Regions from separate parts of the Homo sapiens genome. Here region 2 is linked to region 1. Evidence: promoter capture Hi-C in 16 types of primary human blood cells and fetal thymus (Javierre and others, 2016). All regions are on one chromosome and are shown on one strand. The core of a region is centred on a gene start or on the middle of the fragment in contact, and the rest is flanking DNA. Distances in the headings are between cores, read along the strand shown. Region 1 holds the start of PRMT5 (protein arginine methyltransferase 5). Region 2 overlaps TRD-AS1 (TRD antisense RNA 1).

The links. The method cuts DNA at HindIII sites, captures the fragments that hold promoters and counts their contacts. A CHiCAGO score of 5 or more calls a contact.
Region 2: a contact is called between a fragment that was not itself captured here and the fragment with the promoter of PRMT5 in region 1, in 1 of 17 cell types (naive B cells). The highest score is 6.3, in naive B cells.

What each region holds. Positions count from the first base shown.
Region 1 is chr14:22,926,349-22,932,151 of GRCh38, forward strand. PRMT5 (protein arginine methyltransferase 5) reads right to left here and starts at 3,028. Exons shown (of 17, transcript NM_006109.5): 1 at 2,904-3,028; 2 at 2,149-2,267; 3 at 1,778-1,863; 4 at 1,178-1,312; 5 at 354-466; 6 at 158-207. The coding sequence starts at 3,013. It overlaps PRMT5-DT (PRMT5 divergent transcript), which reads left to right and starts at 3,261. Exons shown (of 3, transcript NR_110002.1): 1 at 3,261-3,404. TRR-ACG1-3 (tRNA-Arg (anticodon ACG) 1-3) reads left to right here and starts at 3,353; the gene lies at 3,353-3,425. It overlaps LOC124903285 (a long non-coding RNA gene), which reads left to right. Exons shown (of 2, transcript XR_007064073.1): 2 at 113-554. RefSeq lists enhancers at 1-813, 2,872-2,981 and a silencer at 3,392-3,481. The HindIII fragment of the contact is 19,261 bases long and covers 1,836-5,803 here.
Region 2 is chr14:22,380,681-22,386,594 of GRCh38, forward strand. TRD-AS1 (TRD antisense RNA 1) reads right to left here. Exons shown (of 5, transcript NR_148361.1): 3 at 1,671-1,725; 4 at 1,164-1,300; 5 at 1-994. It also overlaps TRA. Among named protein-coding and RNA genes, the nearest start is that of TRD-AS1, 99 kb to the right of the region's middle. RefSeq lists an enhancer at 2,974-3,683. The HindIII fragment of the contact is 2,799 bases long and covers 2,088-4,886 here.

The DNA.
Region 1 (5,803 bases), core at 1,778-4,277:
CTTGCTCCTTTGCGCAAAATCTGTTTACTTCTTTAAGAGAAAGCCAGTCTGAGACAGAGGGGAAGTAGCAAAATTGTATACTATATATGAAATTCCTGATTCTTATTCACAGGAGGTAAGAGAAGCCACACCCATCCCAGGATTCTCATGGACTCACCCACTGCAATCCTCTTACTATAGTCACACAAAGTCCGGAAGTTGTGCCACCTGTTCAGTCAAATACAGAAAAGTACAGTAAACTAGATATGGCCGACCAATCACCACAGCTCAAGGAGACCTCCCTACAGGTTGCACCCTGTACTTCCCCTCACCCTATCCCTTGCACCCTGGTACAGCAGCAAAGGGAGACATACCACATCCACGTTTTCTCCTCCCCACTGTACTCCTCTGTGTGTGTAGTTGGTGCATTCTCAATTATATCATCTCTCAGGTCCTCTGGTGCCACCAAGGGTACCCGCATCCAGAACTGCACATGAACAGTCACCCTTTTAGAACTCTCTTTTGAACTCATTGGGTCCAGAAAGTTTCCCTCAATAAAAAAAACTTCATCCAGACCTCGTTAATCCCTTTATATGCTTTTCCCAATTTGTAATTTTGTAAGTGAACATGTACCTTATATATAGATCCTTATGTAAATATCTGCCTTGTCTTACGTAAGTTTCCAAAATAATTACATTTACATGTTTTGAAACTCTCTTCATACCACTTTTAGATGGAGAGGTGCGCAATACTGACCTTTTTTTTTTTTTTTTTTTGAGACAAGGTCTGGCTCTGTCACCCAGGCTGGAGTGCAGTGGTGCAATCTCAGCTAACTGCAACCTCCGCCTCACAGGTTCAAGTCATCCTCCCACCTCAGCTTCCCAAGTAGCTGGGACTACAGGCGTGTGACACCCCACCTAGCTAATTTGTGTTTTTTTGTTTTTGTTTTGGTTTTGGTTTTTTATACAGACAGGATTTCACCACGCTGCCCAAGCTGGTCTCGAACTCCTGAGCTCAGTGATCTGCCCACCTCAGCCTCCCAAAGTGCTGGGATTACAGGCATCACCCACTGTGCCCGCCAATACTGATACTTCAATTCTGCCAAACACACCCTTCACTGAATGGCTAGGCACAAGAAGGTACTTAGCACAATCTGACTACTATGATATGCAGCAGGAAAGGAGCCCCTCAGCTATACCATGGAAGAGTGATGGCCAGTGTGGATGTGGTTGGTCAAAACTCTGGCCAGGTTGGTGTTATCTTCCTGATTAAGGGGCAGCAGGAAAGCTGGAAGACCCAAATATGCACCAAAATTCAGCTCCTGTAACATGGCCTGGAACGGAGATGAAGAGGAAAAGTTTGAGCTAACAAGCAAACAGCTTTTTTTTTTTTTTTTTTGAGACAAAGTCTCACTCTGTCACCCAGGCTGGAGTGCAGTGGCACAGTCTCCACTCACTGCAGCCTTGACCTTCCCAAGCTCAACTGATCCTCCCTCCTCAGCCTCCTGAGTAGCTGGGACCACAGGCATGCACCACCATGCCTGGCTAATTTTTGTATATTTTATAGAGATGGGGTTTCACTACGCTGCCCAGGCTGGTCTCGAAATCCCGAGCTCCAGTGATCCTACAGCCTCAGCCTCCCAAAGTGCTAGGATTATAGGTGTGCACCACAGCACCCAGCCTAATAGCTTTAATTTCATTCTATCAGTTAATTTACCAAGTTATTGGGGATGGGAGGGGACCACTCTCCCCACCCAGCTTGGTTAGAAAAATCCAGCAGAGAAGTCAAACAGTCTTACCGCCTCGGAGTTCCTGCGAATCTTCTCCACTTTTGAGTCTGGACGAATCCATGGAGAAAGCTTTCCCACAATTAGCGTATTCCAGTCTGCACTCCCCCACCCAAGAAAGACAAATACTGAATAAGGTTCAGCACTTTACTTGTTCAATTTTTAGTTTTGGGAATCAAGAGTAGAAATGAGAGACAAAGGTTTTTTCTACATAGACATGGGATAGCCTGATGCAGAATAGAGAAGCAAGGAGAAAACAAGTTATCTATATCCCAGGGACTAACAAATATATCCAAGTCAGAAAAGGAGGAGAATGAGGGCCCCGATAAAGCAGAAGTTGTTATTGCCTCTAATAATTAAGGGGCATATGGGATGGTCCCTACCCCTTCCTGACAGCAGTAGGTCTGATCGTGTCTGGGGACCGGGCCGATTCTTAGCAGGTTCCTGAATGAACTCCCTCTTGAAACGCGGATGGAAGACAGGCATGCAGAGGAAATCAAACCTACAACCGCGACAGACCCAGAATCATGTAAAGACAGCAGCAGTGCCAGAGAGCCAAGCAACTGGATTTAGGCTATCTTGATTTTGCACAGCCCTTTCAGCTGCCATCAGTTCAGCCTACTAGGCTGCTGAGTTCAGACCACCTTGGGGGATATCAACTCTGCTGTACTGTGCCTCAATTTCTCCCTAAAACACAGCCATGGGACATATGAGTAAGGAGAAAATGATGGATATCCACAAGTAGAATTTTTTTCTCCTCAGGTGTCAGTATGTTTCCAAGACCATCACATCCAGATTTGCCCCAGTTCTGCCCATGCCTCCCCCGTCAAAATTAGCCTCTTCTCTCCCTTGCCCCCTAACACCTCCTCCCACTCCCAGACAATAATCGCGACCTCCAGGGCCCTTTAGAGTTTACCCAACAACTCTCCCAACTTTGGGACTCAGTGACCACAGGCCTCCCACAAGTTATTTTCCTCACGTTACTGGGTCCGAGGCTCCTCCCCTCCAAAGAGTAATAGTCTCTCCCCTCCTCATCCTAGCCGACCCCCTCACCCCTGCTTCTCCGGGATGACTAGTCTGCCCTTCTCCGTCCCCGAGTTCGGACCCCGCATTCCGCTCGTGGAGGTCCGGCCCTCACCCCTGCTTGGCCACAGCCCCTAGTGTGTCAGCTATTTCGGGGACGCAATTCAGGTCCCTCCCGCTGGACACGCGGCTCCCACCAGCACCCCCGACCGCCATCGCCGCCATCTTTCTCCTCGCGCTGTCCACGCCGGGATTCCTTGATACTAGTAGCCAATCACAAAGTCAAACTAGTGCCCCAGAAGGCGGGACGAGTCGCCTTAACAACCAGAGCGTCTGCCACAGCTCCCGAACAGGAGGGATGGGGAGTGGCTTTTCCTGCCAATCCGCGGGCTGCACAGTGGCGTACGGCATGGATCCACCAATCTCAGGGTCTGGTTCCTGACGAACTTCAATCTCCCAGAATGCTTAGTCTATCTGAAGAACGCCGTTGAGAGACTACACCGCCCATGAAACCCTGCAGTATAACCTTGAAGTACCATCACGGAGAGAAACAGTGCCATCTCAGGGCCAGTGGCGCAATGGATAACGCGTCTGACTACGGATCAGAAGATTCCAGGTTCGACTCCTGGCTGGCTCGGTGGGGTTCCTCGCAGCTTCGCTGCGTGAGCATTTTGTAATTTTCCTTTCCTTTCGCAGCTTGATGCTTCTTTATTATCTTCACGCTTTCATTATCAGATCCTGAGTCGGTTGGGTTATGCAGCCATGTAATGTCAGCTTTTCCCGTAACTACCCTCAAAAGTGTTTTTCTTGTGTCATTATTTACGTCCATATGAACACTGAGAAAACTGGGTTAATGGCTGGTGCTATTAAAATGAGCTTTGTCACCTTACTATGTTACATATTAAAATAAACTGCTAACTCAGCTACTACTTCCTAGTGATTCTAGGAAGTAGTGTTTTGTGTTTCAAACACAAAAGGTGTAAATAAACGCCTAAACACACACACACACCTCAAGATAGAGAAAAGGAATTCATTAATTACAGTGGGCAGCAGTCATGAAATTGGCTGGCATGGAGGCCAGAGAGAATCTACATTTTCTCATGTCATTAGCTGCTAGAGATGGAAAGGAAGGAAGCAAGGAAAGACATAGGGAGGTAAATGGGAACTCCAGAAGGCAGGGGGCCCACTGGTGTTGAGGGCTCGGCAGCAAGGATGGAGAGGAGAACACGGTACAAGAGACCCCACGCAGGCGCCGCTGGCAGAACTTAGGGACCGACTGGCAAGGAGTCCTGAGAAAGCAAAGTAGGGGGTGATGCCTAGGATTCTGTCCATGCAGTGAGCAAGAAATGCGGAAAGAGGGTTTGGGAAATCAGGGTTTGGGTTTGGTCATGCTGAATTGAACGTCTAGGGGGCGCTGTGTAATAGAAAGTTGGATGGAGGTCGCTAGAAGAAAAGAACTGAGGCCATGCGACTGAGATCACCATAGCTCGTTGGGGACAGAGCCATAGGAAATACGAAAAGGGTGTGGGGTAGGATAAGTTCTGGGGAACCCTGGGTGCAATGCAAGTGCCCCAAAAGAATGAAAGCCGGAAAACCGGCCGGGCGCGGTGGCTCACGCCTGTAATCCCAGCACTTTGGAAAGCGGAGGCGGGTGGATCTCCTGAGGTCAGGAGTTCGAGACCAGCCTGGCCAACATGAAAACTCCCCGTCTCTCCTAAACGTGGTAGCAGGCGCCTGTAATCCCAGCTACTCGGCCAGCTACTCGGGAGGCTGAAGCAGGAGAACTGCTTGAACCCGGCAGGCGGAGGTTGCAGTGAGCCAAGATCACGCCACTGCACTCCAGCCTGGGCAACAAGAGCAAAATAATGTCGGGGCAGGGGGAGGAGGAAAGGAAAGTCGGAAAAACCAAAGCATTTAAAAAATGCACCATGAAGGCCAGGCTGGGCACAGTGGCTCACGCCCGTAATCCCAGCACTTTGGGAGGGCGAGGCGGGCGGATCACCTGAGGTCGGGAGTTCGAGACTACCCTGACCAACACGGAGAAACCCATCTCTACTAAAAATACAAAATTTAGCCAGACGTGGTGGCGTGCGCCTGTAATACCAGCTACTCAGGAGGCTGAGGCAGGAGAATCACTTGAACCTAGGAGGTGGGAGGTGGAGGCTGCAGTGAGCCTAGATCATGCCGTTGTACTCCAGCCTGGGCAACAGCAAGACTCCGTCTCAAAAAAAAAAACAAAAAAAAACCCCAGCACTTTGGGAGGCCGAAGCAGGCGGATCACGAGGTCAGGTGATCAAGACCATCTTGGCTAACACAGTGAAACCCCGTCTCTACTAAAAAAAATACAAAAAAAATTAGCCGGGTGTGGTGGCAGGCGCCTGTAGTCCCAGCTACTCAGGAGGCTGAGGCAGGAGAATGACCCAGGAGGCAGAGCTTGCAGTGAGCCGAGATCGTGCCACTGCACTCCAGCCTGGGCGAGAGAGCGAGACTCCATCTCAAAAAAAAAAAAAAAAAAAGCTCCATGAAGCCTGAAGTGATTGGAGGTGCTTTTGTCCACTATTATCGTTACTATTTTTCTGCTCCAGGATCCCATGCAGCATATCATATGACATTTAGTTGCTATGTCTCCTTAGGCTCCTCTTGGCTATGACAGTTTCTCAGATGTTCCTTGTTTTTGATGACTTTGGTAGTTTTGAGGAGTACTGGTTAGGTATATTGTAGGATGCCCCTCTATTGGAATTTGTCTGTTTGTCTCATGATTAGACTGTGTTTTGGGAAGGAAGGTCACAGAGTTAAAGTGCTGTTTTTGCCGGGGGCAGTGGCTCAGGCCTGTAATCCCAGCACTTTAGGAGGCCGAGGCAGGCAGATCACCTGAGGTCAGGAATTCGAGACCAGCCTGGCCAACATGGTGAAACCCCGTCTCTACTAAAAATACAAAAATTAGCCAGGAATGGTGGCATGCGCCTGTAATACCAGCTACTCGGAGGCTGAGGCAGGAGAACTGCTTGAAACTGG
Region 2 (5,914 bases), core at 2,237-4,736, 550 kb before region 1:
GTGTTCGAGCCAAAGTAATACCATTCTCTTTATTCATTCCAATGAGCTAATTTTACATGAGCAAGAAAGCACTGGAGAGGTACAGACCCATGGGATATTTGCCTAGCCTAAGTGAGTCTCAGATGGAAATAAATATGAAAAGCGTTAGCATGGGACCTGTGAGAAATTGATTCTTACATCTGGCCTCCAAAGGGTCAAGCCACAAATAAGTGACCTTTGACATGCCCCTTCTCTAGTTCAGCCTGGAGCTGCCCACATTTCCCAGTGGTGCCCAGTCAACTCATTCTCCTGATGCAGGATCATCAGAGAGAATCTGGAGTAATGGCAGCTGCGGGTAAGGGGCTGCCAAATAATAGTGGAACAAAGATCTCTTCCAAGTTTCTATTTCCTCCGAATAGCTCAAATACTTCAACAGTCCAGGTCCCCCTAAAGACTGCATTTTCTTAGCTGCATTCTCTCTAGTTGTGATGAGTGTCTCAAAAAGGAACACCTCTCCTCCTGAGTTTATGATAGTTTATGACCTGCCACTTCATTTCCAGCAGTGTGTCCCAGTTCCTCTTGCAATCCACAAAGGACACTTTTTCTTTCAGTAGCCTGGTGTGAGCTCTTGCCTCTCAGGATTAGCTGTGATCTTACTGCTGGGGTGGGAGCACACTTAGCCACAGGGCCCAAAAGAACTACTGTCACTGAAAAGAGCACTTTCCTGTATTTGAGGGCTCTTCCTCTCTTCTGGTACACCCGGGGAAAAACCTGGCAGAGTCCACCCACAGTCTTTGAGGATTAATTCTGTAAGAACTTCTTACACTGAAGGGAATCCTCCTCCAGGGGATGATTCTGCTCTGTGCTTCTGAGCTCTGATGGCAATCACATCAACATCGCCAGGGACTGTGGCAGAAGAGGAACATCACCCACTGGAAACCGGGGCAAGTTGCTCCTCTGTAGTTCCAGGAAATGGCCAGAGGCACAGCTCTGCTGTTCCAATTTGCAGTTTTCTCTAACATCAAAAATAAAATGTGATTTGCATTTGAAATTTTACAGAATTCCTCATTTTAGGTCAAGACTGGCCTTACCCATAGGTTAGTGACTTATGTGGTAGGATTTAACACACACACACACATACACACACAAATATTATCCATAAAAAGAATTATATTCCCACCAACCTGCTGTGGCATTCATCAGTGACCCTTTGAAGTTCAGCCATTGAAGGGGCAGGTTAAAATGCAAATTTGTTTCTTGGAGAGGTAGCACATAGAGCTATTATCAACTGTCAATGCTCCGGTATTGCTGGAATGTCAGACTAAGAAGTTTGGGTTAAAAATTAACATATCAGTAAGTGAAGACTGGCTTTATATATTACATATTTAATTTATAAAAATGGTGACATTAAAAGGTGGCACCAAAATGTAAATAGAATCAAGATCACTTTGGATAAATTAACGCATGACACAAGCCTTTGACATGTTATTAATGGAAATGAGTTTGGGGGATCTAATTTAGCCTTTGAGATTAGTGTCAACAAAGAAAGGTATCTCCTCTGGTGCCCATGGCAGAAGCAGAACATTAGTACAATTCACCATAGATCAGTTTCACTTTGTAATTCAGTGTAAGTGGTTTATATGATAGAGAGGGCAGGAAGATCTGGTTTTGACTCTGTCTCTACTACTTACAAGATGCGTGAAGCTGCTCAAGTCACTTAAGCAAGGTGAGCCTCAGGTTCTTCATCTACAAAAGTGGGATGTAGAAAAGAAGAGTAAATGTAAAATTCCTGTTCAGTAGTTGTCTATTAAAGAATCTCTCCTTCCTTCCTCTATTCACATCCATCAGGGAGAGGAGTAGGCTGATGGTGCCAGCTAAGGACCTCGGCACTCCTAGACCTATTCCTGAACCATTAATGGCTCTGAATTTGGGACAGGAATGTTACTCTCATGGTTAATTCCTTGCTCACTTGTCTGCTGGTGCTTGTTCACAATGTCAAAGATATGGCAACTTCATGGGAAGGCAGGTTTAACTTTTTGGTGTTTTTGCACTAGCCTGTATATCTGTCTACCTTTCATATGAGAACCACCTTGCTGATTCAGACTGGAAGCTTCAAGAGAGAAGTTTCTTTCCATTTAATGCACTGGGGATGGTGCTCAACAGAGAACCACACTCAAATCGGGGCTAAATAATATGGCAATATCATGGTTACAAAAGAAACACCTCCCTTTCTCACCAAATCACTGAATCCCTTATTCTATAAAAATGAAATTGAACTGCAAACATCACCACCATGACAAGAGGATTTAGGCACACTGATCAACTGATTAAATTCTATTTGTCATCCAGAGTGATCCTGGAGGCCTTCAGAGCCTGGAGGAAACCTCTCTGTGACTCTACTCACATCTTTACACACGGAAAATCCAATTAGGCTGAGTATCTACAGCAGCTTCCAGAAGTAAACTGATTGCAGAAGGGCAGCCTGCTGCCTGAGGACTGCAGGGGACGAGGAAGGGGTGGGCCACCTGGAAGGGACCTCTGCCTTCTCAGCACCTAGAGTTGGTTTCCAGATGATCACATAGTTTAACCCTTTTCTTTTATAGACAAGGAAATTGAGGCCCAGAAAGGTTAACAGTCTTGCCCAAGACCTAAGATTAGAAGGCAGAGTTGGGGTTGAGAATTGCTTATGTGAGACTCAGACCCAAAGCAGACGACCATATTTTCAAATTCAGTGAAAACTGGAAAACTCGTATGGGCCTACCCAGCCTGGAAAATCCCCATGTATTACCAATACATAGTAAACGAATCAAAGATTGAAAAGTTTACTTGAAAACCAATCAGAAGTCCTCTCCCACATGCAAAAATCCCACCCTAATAGAACACTCATCACCCGTCAGACTGTCTTAACACTTCTTCCTTTTTCTTTCTTTGCAAACCCCTTTGAGCCTGTGCCAGAAGTGACGGTGTCTGCCACCCTCTCTGCAGTCAGTCCTGACCAGTTCTCTGGGGTTTACACCTGTCCTCTGGCCACTCGTCTGCTGCACTTCCTGCATCTGCTTGTTTCACCTTGGCCCCAGCTTTACCTGAGGGGTGCTTGGCCTGTGCCTTGAGTTCCAGGGCCTATGTTTACTTCAAAAATATTAATGTCAATTCCTTCAACTTGTTCCAAAGACAACAGAGCCTCTCACAAGCAGGCAAGCCCTGCCACTTGTTACGTAGTTGAGGCTGACGAGCCTGCAGGTCCCAGCCAACTTTATCACCTCCCTCTTCTGAGGGGTGGAAGTCCCCAACATCTCAGGGTCCCCTGAGAGTATGGGGATTCCCACATCGGCAAGTACCTGCTTCAGAGAAGCCCATGAGAAACTGGCCCAGAGCAAGCGGGTCCACCCTCCCATTGTGGGAAAGTGAAGGGCAGAAGGAGTCTGGCTGGAGGTCACTCCTGCCACTGATCTTCCTCACTCGGGTCCAGCCTGTCAGAGGATAAAGCACAGTGGTGGGTGGGGGTATCTGGCTCTCCCCCACCCTCCTTCTCAGGGGTTCAGTAGTCCCTGGGAACAAGATTCAGCTCAGGAATTTCTGGGATGCTGGTCAGTTCTGGCCCTAAGGACACTGGGAGTGACAGCGGGCTGCTAAGGATGTGACAGTGACTGGGCTGTTCCCTTCACATGACTACCAGGGCAAGCCCTGGCCAAATCCCAGCACCTGCTGAAAGTTGAAGCTGACCACTGGAGTGATTAGATTCATGACATGTGGTGGAGGCCTGGGGAGTGGAGCTACTGGGAAAGGACACAGCTAAGGAATCTCCTCCCTCCCAGCATTGCTTGACCCTTTCACAAAGACAGTGGTAGGTAGAGGAAGAAGGAGAATTGGCCTACTCCTTCCTTTTCGCTGTATATGGTCATAGAAATTGTCAGAACTTTATATCTAGATTCAAGTTCTATCTCTAGCACAATTAGCTCTAAAACTTTGCGAACGTTACTTAACCTCCTAGGTCCTCTTTGTTCATAAAACGAGAACGTAATACATACCTTGGTTGGCTGTGAAAGTTATATGAGTCAGTGTTGTGGGGAAGTTGAAGGCATGCAGTAGATGCACAAGGAAAATTAAATTCCGTTCCCCAGTTCCTGGCTTGCAAGTTGGGGGTTAAACTCAGTTAAGCTCAGAGAAGACATGACATGACGGGGGATCAAGGGAGATGTGGGAAGCTCACGGGCTGTGGTTCCCACTGATCCACATTAGACTCCAAATGACAACACCCTCACAATCCCATGAAATTGAGCAGAATTTCTCTTCTTTCTTGTGATGTTTCCAGAAATGAAGAGAGAGGGAAGGAAGACACAGACTCTGATCTTTGGCTTCACTTTGGTTCCAAGACCTGGAGCTGATAGTGTATGGAGGGTTGCCTGTTTGTCCAGGCACTATGAATAAGACCAAGGTAATCCAGCCCAACTCTACGACACAGCTAAGCCAACAAGCAGCTGGATCTTGTGTCTCAGCACTCACAGAAATGTATAAATCATCTGATACCAACTGCTCCCCGGAAGCCTCTGTCTCCAGAATATAAATGTCCAACTACAGGACTGGCAAAGAAACCAAGCCCTGGGCAATGCCTACTATGGACCCTTATTTCTTGTGGTTTGCTAAGAAAAAAGTAGGCCCAAGGGAGAGGAGGGGGAAAACCAGGAGGGTCTAAAGTTCTTCTGACTGAAAGAAAAGACCACATCAGAGAGAAAGAAAGGAATCAGTTAAGTAATAAAAGGTTGTGAGTTGATTTATCATTCAACTAAACAAATTATCTTCCTACACAAACATTCTGAGGATTAAGTGAACAATATAATACTTTTCTGAGCTCTTTTTGATCAAATGCTTTGCTGTTAAAGGTTATATTCCTAGGGAGTTGATACTGAAGCTTCTTGTTCCTTGTCAGTAAACACAAGGAGAGGCCAACCCTCTGTAAATTTAAATTACATAAAACCTTTCCCCAAACTGTCTGGTCTCCTAACAGCCCCTTTTCACTGAACTCTGTGGTTATGGAATGTAAGTATCTTTATCACAGCAGCACAGACTTTTGAAAATTTGACATAATAGAATTTCTTCCTCACAAGGCATATCAAACACCATTGCAAACTAGTGGGATTTTTAATCAAGACTAAAGCAGAGGTCTTTTATTTGTTTGTTTGTGCTTAGATTATTTCCACATGACCAATAAAATGTTCTCTCTGACCATCATCCCTGCTGACTAGAAGTACCAGGAACCTTGTCTCACCCTCACCTCCAGAGGTAAGGGTATGAACGGACTGTGAAAAAACACAGCAGAACACTGGGGTCAGCAGAGAGAAAGCGAAAGAACCCCATGGGCAGATAATCTAAAAGCAGCAGAGAATCAACGGGAAACTAACACAAGTGCCTGAAGATGGAGACAGCAATTTTTAGTGATTTTGGCTTGTCTCTGTTCTATGAAGCTCCAACTCAGTGGCAACCTAGTGTGAAAATTTATGAAATACTTTTGGATTTATCTCTGTAATTCCAGGTCTGGCACAATATAGGTTTCTTGAATGAATAAATGGATGAACATGTCAATCAATGAATGAACAGTAATATTAAGGAGGGGAAGAAAACCATTACAGGTCAATGAATGGGTTCCTAGAAGATTCCCCTGTCTCCCATTGTCTTCCGACTCAGGGAGACAACAGCTGGAGCAGAGTGCCTAGACTTCGGGGGCTTAGGAGGCCACACATCTTAGAGAGCATTTCACCATCAACTGCAATTCCTTTGGCAGTTTGAATTATAATATTTACTTCCATGATACAGTCTTCAGCTGTTGTAACTGCTAGTGACCCTTCTCTGAATCCCTACTTCGTATGTTAGACATTTTTTATATGGAGAATTAATACAGCCTTGACTGCTATGCTTCTTTTTTACTTCCATCTCTAAT